2 separate regions of the Homo sapiens genome follow, and region 2 is linked to region 1. Evidence: promoter capture Hi-C in 16 types of primary human blood cells and fetal thymus (Javierre and others, 2016). All regions are on one chromosome and are shown on one strand. Each heading gives the region's core, a stretch centred on a gene start or on the middle of the fragment in contact. The rest is flanking DNA. Distances are from core to core; before and after follow the strand shown. Region 1 holds the start of HCFC1-AS1 (HCFC1 antisense RNA 1). Region 2 overlaps GAB3 (GRB2 associated binding protein 3).

Region 1 (3,968 bases), core at 664-3,163:
TAGTGGACGAACTGCACGTGTACAACACGGGTGAGTGCAAAGCCCGCTGGGTCTTCGGCTCTTTCCCTCCCTCCATCTCCTCCCTCTCCCTCCTCTTTCCTCCCTCCCTCCATCTGCTCCCTCCCTCTCCTCCCTCCCTCCATCTCCTCCCTCACCCTCTACCCTTCCCTCTCTCTCTCCCCTCCTCCCTTACCCGTCCTTCTCCCCTCTCCCCGTCCCCCTCCCCCTTCTCCCCTCCTCCCCCTCCCTCCCCACTGATCGGCTTGCCCCTCCCCTTTGCTGTGCCGGGCTTCAGTGCTTTTCTCTGATCTTCTCCCCGTTCCCTTGTCTCTCCCGTGTTTGAGGATTGGTTTTCGTTAGTTAAAAGAAAGCCCCTAGTCCGACTGGTGAGGGAGAGGGGCTGTCGCCAGCGGTGGTGACTTCAGACCCACACCGTTACCCAGCGGGCTGGGGCTGGGGCTGGGGCGGGCGGATGTGTCCCCTTGGCGCAGGCAGAGCTCCCCTCCCTCCCTCCCTCCCTTCTCCTGCGCCTGCTCAGCTCTCCCTCATCTCGAGTGCCCATTCTGGAGAAATGACCATTTCTAGATTACAGATTCGTTCTCTGTCTCTCGAAAAAGGGAGGGAAGGGAAGCGCTCTTAGGACGCAGAGTTTAACATCCGCCGACCCGGGTAATGCCGGAGCCTTGGGGACCCCTAGGACGGGCCGGCGGCAGGGCCGCCTCTCCCTTTCCACGTTTACTTCTGCAGCATTTCTTTCCAAGTCGCCCCTTCTCCTAATCTGGTGCCTTCTGGTTTACAAGCTGAATTCCAGTTACCCCTCAGCGGCCTGCGTAGTCGTGTGTCTCCCCGCTTCTGCGGATCCAGGGGGTTACCCCACCCGCTCTTCTGCCTCCCTGCAAAACCCAAAGCCCGTTAGTTGGGAAGGGGAGGAACCTCTCTCTTCAGGTATGGCTGATGCACCACGGCCTTCGTGGGGGCCGTTTGTTGTTGCCTCTGCCTAGTAGCCTTGCTTAGTCTCTAGGGCAGAAAGCCTGCTGCTGTCCACGACAGCTTTGTGGCATCCTTTTTCTTGGTGGCTACTTGGCCCGTTTTGTGCCCCTAGCACAAGGGTCAGTTCCCAAGTTGCCTACTGACTGCCCGTTGGCCCACAGGACCCTGGCCTTGCCCAGAAGGCAGGGTCAGGGTGAGTTCGGTCCCAGGCAAGAGCTGGAAGAGTCTGGGTGAGGGAAAAGCCCCCTGCAGGCGGCTGGGGGAGGGCCTTGGGATGCCCTAGTCCTGAGTGGCAGGCACGGCTCCCAGCACTAACCCCTTGCTCCGCGGCCGTTCTCTCCTGGGGGCTCTAGCGATCCCCTGGCCTCGGTGGTGGCCCTGCAGACAAACCCTCGCTGAGTGGGCTTTGTGTCCTGAGCGGTGAGAGGCTGCTGTTCTTTGGCTGAGCTCCAGTGCCTCGATGCTCTGGGGGTGGGAAGCTGGAGCTGCCTGGAGGGAGAAAGTTGGTTTAGGGAGTTGGGAAGGCTGGAGCTGGGCTCTTGGGTGCCGCTTCCTTCCCCACCCCCCAAGGCAGAAAGTGCTGGTTTCTCCACATCTCGGAGATTATCGCCACCTACCACGTTGACTTTGAAAGGCTGGTGGGTTGTCTGTGACCGTTTTTCGTTCCAGGTCTCTCAGCACCTGTTGCCTCCAGGGAGCAGGGCCTTTCTCAGCAGCCCCCGGGCGGGGGCGCTTGGTGGTTGGTGGTGCCCCGCGCCAGCCCAGGCAGCTGCAGTAGCAGGAATTAGCTCAGTAAGCTAAGGCTTCTCCAGTGGTGGGGCTGTTTATAGAGGCACCGTCACCATGAGCAGCACCTTCTCCACTCTGTGGACCGACTTTCTTCTCATAAGGCCTGGAGCAGGCTCCCTGGCAGGGAAATGCAATTTTAGAAAGTAGGGCAGGGGCCTAATTACAGTCGGCTCCAGAGTCCACCACCACTGCTGCCTTGGCTTCCTGGGGCCTCTGCATATTCATTAGTTTATTAAAATGAATTGACCACTTTGGCATGAATTCATTACCAGTCTGCAAAGACAGGTTGTGCATTAGAGGGGTAGCCTGCCTTCCAAAGGGCTGCTTAAAATGAAGCTCTGGGATCCTCCAGGGTAGCAGTTTGGAAACTGTCATCGGCAATTCCTCAGACGAGAGAGCAGCTGGCAGACCTGAAGCCCTCTTCCTCACCGGGGTTTCTGCCCCCTCCCGCCAGCCCGGCCTCGTCACCTTTGTCTTGTCTTCTTTTGTTGTGTTTGGGATGAGATCAGGGCATATTCTCACGCCTGTGCCCCTTGCAGTTCTGCGGGATCAGTCCTCAAAAAGCCTTGTACCTTTGGAGAGAGCTGATCTGGAAGGGGTTCCCGTTGCTAGGATAAGAAAGCTTCAGGGGGTGTGTGCTTTGAGAGCTCTTAGGGTAGCTACTGTGCTTGTCCTTAGGGAATTTTAGTTCCATGTGGCAAGCCAAAGGATTCAGAGTGCTGCCAGGTGTGGGGGGTGGGGGAGCGAGAGCTTTGGCTACGGTGGCTCTGTAATGTCCATAGGTTCTTGGAGCTGGAGGGAGCCTTGGAAAATACCTAGTGGAACTACTTCCTTGTTTCTGCAGATGAGGAAATTGGGGTCCAAGAGGGGAAGTGACAGGTCCAGGGTCGCCCTCCCAGCTGGTGGCGGAGTTGGGCGGGAGTGCAAACCTTCATAGAGGCCGTTCTGCCACCTGTCTTTGGGGCCCATCACCTTTGAAATGCCTCCATTCTCTCCTCTGTCCCTGTATCTAATTGTTCATTGCGTTGGGCAGGCATCAAATGTGTCCCCTTCCACACCAAGCCCTCCTCTCCTCTTACTAGACTCTTGCAGTCACTTCCTGATTGGCCCTGCTAGTTTCATTTGTCGGGAAATCCTGTTCACCCTTCAAGGCCCGGCTGAAACGTCACCTCTTCTGAGAAGCCCTTTCCACTCCTGTCCTCCCCTCTCCAGCAGTCGCACTGCTCTGTGCTCCCAAGGGCCCGGCTTGGTCAGAGCTCTTCTAGGGTGTTTGTCTCATCGTGGGAGGGGGGCATGCAGCCTTCCTACCCCATTGGGAGTATGAGCACAAGATCGGTGTCCTCTGTGCCTCCCAGCACGTCGTATGCCACACAGGAAATGCTCTAATGTGACAGGTAGAACAGAGAGGAAGGCAGCTCGTTGAACTTGACCGGCCACCTCACTGCATGGGCACCAGTCTCTAGGTGGTGATGGGACAGTGGCAACCAGGGATGGAGCTTGCAGAGCATGAAGTGGTTGGGGGAGCTGATGAAACACAGAGAGGCCGGGGCACAGCCTTGCTCAGGAGAGGGGAGCTGGAGTGGTCTTCATCTAGTGCAGGGTCCTTTCCCCACCTTCCCCTCCCAGCTGAGAGCCAGCATTTCCAGGATGAGGGGCCCAAGGATTGGGTTACATGACACCCCCCAGATGATTCAGGGGTGACTGAGAGCAGCTGTCACATTGAAAAGCTGGGAGAAGGGAGGAGAGCTTGCTCGTGTGCTTTCAGGGGGCGGAACCAGGACTCGTGGGTGAGATGAGGAGCCGCAGGTTTGTCGTCACACCAGGAGCTGTGCTCCCTGACAGACCTCTCTTGACGGGGGTGGGGAGGGCCCCTGCCCTGCCTGGAGTGTTCTAGAATGAGATCAGCACCTCTTGGGTCCTGTAGAAGGATCTGGTGAGCGGGATCCCCAAAGATATCACAGGGCGCTTCTGGCCTGGCCCACCGGCTCACTGATCAGCGTGTGATAGGAAAGCTGCCCACTGACCCCACGTGCCATTTAGCTTTGTCCCAAACTCTGACCCGCAGCCCCATAGCTGTGGGCTTTGACCACGAGGGTGCTCAGGGGAGTGAGGGTGGCTGCCTGGACATGGGACCCTAGGGAAGGCACAGATCGGTTGCTTCAAGTCAGTGATGGGGCTGTTGTCTCTGT
Region 2 (3,824 bases), core at 79-2,578, 750 kb before region 1:
AGTCTCGCTCTGTCGCCCAGGCTGGAGTGCAGTGGCGCGATCTCGGCTCACTGCAGGCTCCGCCCCCCGGGGTTCACGCCATTCTCCTGCCTCAGCCTCCCGAGTAGCTGGGACTACAGGCGCCCACTACCTCGCCCGGCTAATTTTTTGTATTTTTATTAGAGACGGGGTTTCACTGTGTTAGCCAGGATGGTCTCGATCTCCTGACGACAAATTATTTTTCTAATATCATAATGAACTCATGGATTTAAGTGTATTTGATGGATTTCAAGCTACTATAATTATTACACAATCATGCATCATTCAATGACGGGCATATGTTCTGAGAAATGTGTCATTAGGTGATTTAGTCACTTTGCAAACATCACAGGGTGTACTTACACAAACCTAGCTTACTACACACCTAGGCTATATGTTATAGCCTGTTGCTTCTGGGCTACAAACCTGTACAGTATGGTACTATATTGAATACTGTAGGCAATTGTAACACAATGGTAGGTATTTGTGTATCTAAACATAGAAAAGGTACAATAAAAATATGGTATTAAATCTTTTGGGATTCAGATGTCTCGGAGGATTGAAAAAAAATCTTATAGGACCACCATTGTATATTTGGTTCATTGTTACTATTATGTCATGCAGCATATGACTATTTATGAAAGCAAAAATTCTTTCATATATGGCCAGTGGTAGCCTCTTCAGGTTAGCCCCTAAGTCCTTTTGACATGGCCCTCGTCATTCCTTGTGGCATTGTTTCACTGTAAAAAGCTTCACTTTAGTGCTGGCAGACTGACTGCTTTCAGGGGCTTTGTCACATGTCTTCCATTTTCCAGAAGCCTGTAAGCCTGGTGGAACAGAACTATATGTGGCCTCTGGTTTTACCTACTTAGCAAAGAGCTCCAAGAACACCTCACTTCTGTTTTTGCATAATCAAAACTCTTATGTAGAGATTTAAAAACCTAAGGGATGACACACTGGCGATTTTGCATGATTCAGCATCAAGACTATGCTACGTCCTATTTAAGTTACTGTGTGACTGTTCTTTTTCCTTTCCACCCTCATGCCTGCCTTCCAGCCCTGCTGAACTACTTACGCAAAGTTTTGAGCCTTTCCACCTTAATGCCTTTGTGCACGCTGCTTCCTCCTGCCCCACTTTAGCCTTAGCTTAGTCACCACTTCTTCCTGGAAGCCTCCCCAGACAACTGATCTGAGAGAGATGTCTCTTTTGTTTGTTCCCATAGCATCTTGGTTTTGCCTTATCGTAGCACTTATCTCACTGATTGCAATCGTCTGTTTATCCATCTGCTCACTCCCTTGTTGCCCATGAGACTGTGAGTGGCAGGGCATGTGGCTTGCTCACTTCATCTTCCCCAGTATCTGCACAGTGTCCAGCATATTAGTGGGCTATCAACAGGTAATTGTTGAATGAATGGATAAAGCCCAAACTTCTTCATGTCACTCTTCCCATTGCACTCCCACCACTCCTGGTTCATTCTTCTGCTAGACCGCTCACTACGCTGAGTTGAAATCTACCCATATCATAATTCTACCCTTCTCCCTATCCCAGCTAGAGAGTGAGGTCTTTTAGGGACCAGCTCTAATCCCCTTTTCTAGCTTCATTGTCTAGCAGGATGCACAGTGCAGAGTAGGCACTCAAATAAACTCTTGGTGTTACTTCTCTTCCAATATTGTTATTAAAAGATAAGAAATCTATTGTCTCCATAACACTAAGAGCGGTTAATGTGAAACTTGTTTCTGTGCTTAGTTTGACTTCCTCTTTTAGAATCATTTTTGGGAAGTGCAACAAAGTTCCTCTTTACATTTCCCCCACCAAAGTGGCTTTTGGAAAGTTTGGAGCACCCCATGCTCCCTCCCCATGAAAGCTTTCCTCAGCAGGCACAAATGGCATTCTCTCATCCCCTGAGCCCCTTCCCTGGACTAGGCCTTATGTTCCTGTTTGCCTCAGTTGATGCCAGAAGCCCAGGTTTCCCACTTTCAAACCCCACAGCAAAACTTGAGCTCCTTCTCTTATGTTTAGTGGCTCTACTCCCATCCAGTGCCACGTTTTTGCAACAGGAATTTACTGAATCAATTTTTCTCTCCCTCTTGGGTCACCCCCACGAGCATACAAACATGCTGTTATTTTTCCTGTCTTAAAAACATGGACTTAATCACACCACGTTGTTTGTCTCCTGAGATGGTCTCCTTGTTTGACTCATGGCCAGACCTCTTTTCAAAGCTTTATACTGTCTGTAAAGGCAGGAGCAAACCAGGGTTCACCTGCCCCAACCTGACATGGAGTGACTGCCTTCCTTCTGCTTGCTGCCCCTTGCCTCAGTCCTGGAAGGGCTTTTTATTCTAAGGCATAATTGGAGGTCAGTGCTTCTTTGGATTCTCTGCCATCTCAGATTCATGTTCTCTGAGCAGGGAGGGAGCTGAGAATACTCCAAATAGTGTCTTTTCCTTTTTCCCTGGCCTCTTGGTCAAAGCTGGTGGGCTTAAAAAGTATCACACATAAATGAAGCTAGAGATACAAAAGACTTCCTGTCCCAGGGGTCGCTGTACCTCCTGGCAGAACCCCACACTTCCTGCTGTCACACATGCTACCGCATGGGAGAGAAAAACCACAGAGCTATAAATCTCCCTGCGGTCAGCCGTCATCCTTCTCTGTGCTCAATTCCCAACTGGGGCTAATGCCATAGTTCCCTACCGCAGAAAGTAAGGATACGCTATCCATGCAGGCTGGCCTATCTGGCCCTTCGATGAACAAAGGGCACCTAAATGTAAGACAAGGAACTCAAACATTTCCTTCCCCCTGGCTCCATGAGAGGGCAGGGAGGTTTACAGATCCAGGGGACTCCCTAGGGCTTTGGTCAATTGTAAATACCTCTTTCCCCAGGCCAGAGATCTGCACCCTTTCTTTGTACTGAGCCAAGATGGTACTGTCTACATCAAAAATTCTAAGTCAATGGTGAGTGGGAAGCCAAGGAGCCCTAGGTCATTCTCAGTTGTTCTCAGGGCACAAAAAGAGACCTGTCAAATCTTGGCACTGGTTTCTGTGGAATATCATTCTCTTTTCTTTTCTGAGCATGGACTGAGCTTTACCTGTTCATCTGACTTCCAGGCTTGGCTCTTTCCAAGATTCCTATTCCATTAAGGAAAATTCCTTTTTGTTTTTACAGTGTTTCAAAACAGGGGCACTGATAGCTTTAGGCCAATCCTGCCATGCCCCACCCCCCACTCCATCTCCAGCCTTTATAACAAGCAAAACCCACATATTTTCAGATGCTCCCGAGAGGAATTATACCATCCCTGGTTGAAAAACACTGTGACTTAGGGGGTGAATGCTTAAGAGTCTCCCATCTTTAAAAAATCCCTTGACCCCAGAGCTTTCCCCCTTTACAGTCAGATGTTTCTGGAGAGCTGGCTACACTTCCTCTCTCTCTTTATTTTTTAACTTCACATCCATTACCGATCCTTCCATCCCAACCTGAGTTCAAATTCATTCCTACAGTTGTTTAGCTATGTGACCTTGAGCACATTACTTAATCTCTCTGAACCTCAATTTTATCAGACATAAGATGGAGATAGTAATAGTTACCCCTCCCATAGTATAGTTTTAGGGATTAAATGGGTTACAGTAAAGCGCTTAGACAAGGGTCTCTTACATAGGAAGTGTAACTAGCCAAGCTAGTTAATTCTCTGAGAATTCTATTAGTGTTTTAATCATCATTGGGGGTTTTATGGAAGACAATTTGTCACCTTCAGACACTGGCAATCTTCTCTCCTCCTCTCCAATGTGTATGATTTTCCTTCTTGGCCAG

Evidence for each region. The method cuts DNA at HindIII sites, captures the fragments that hold promoters and counts their contacts. A CHiCAGO score of 5 or more calls a contact.
Region 2: a contact is called between a fragment that was not itself captured here and the fragment with the promoter of HCFC1-AS1 in region 1, in 2 of 17 cell types (activated CD4 T cells and total CD8 T cells). The highest score is 6.2, in activated CD4 T cells.

Annotation. Positions count from the first base shown.
Region 1 is chrX:153,966,710-153,970,677 of GRCh38, reverse strand. HCFC1-AS1 (HCFC1 antisense RNA 1) reads right to left here and starts at 1,913. Exons shown (of 3, transcript NR_046608.3): 1 at 1,608-1,913; 2 at 1,307-1,479; 3 at 587-893. HCFC1 (host cell factor C1) reads left to right here. Exons shown (of 26, transcript NM_005334.3): 1 at 1-30. RefSeq lists enhancers at 1-260, 250-489, 3,680-3,968 and a silencer at 1,276-1,454. The HindIII fragment of the contact is 6,911 bases long and covers 1-2,403 here.
Region 2 is chrX:154,716,796-154,720,619 of GRCh38, reverse strand. All of the region lies in intron 1 of GAB3 (GRB2 associated binding protein 3), which reads left to right. Among named protein-coding and RNA genes, the nearest start is that of GAB3, 32 kb to the left of the region's middle. RefSeq lists an enhancer at 972-1,266. The HindIII fragment of the contact is 1,115 bases long and covers 771-1,885 here.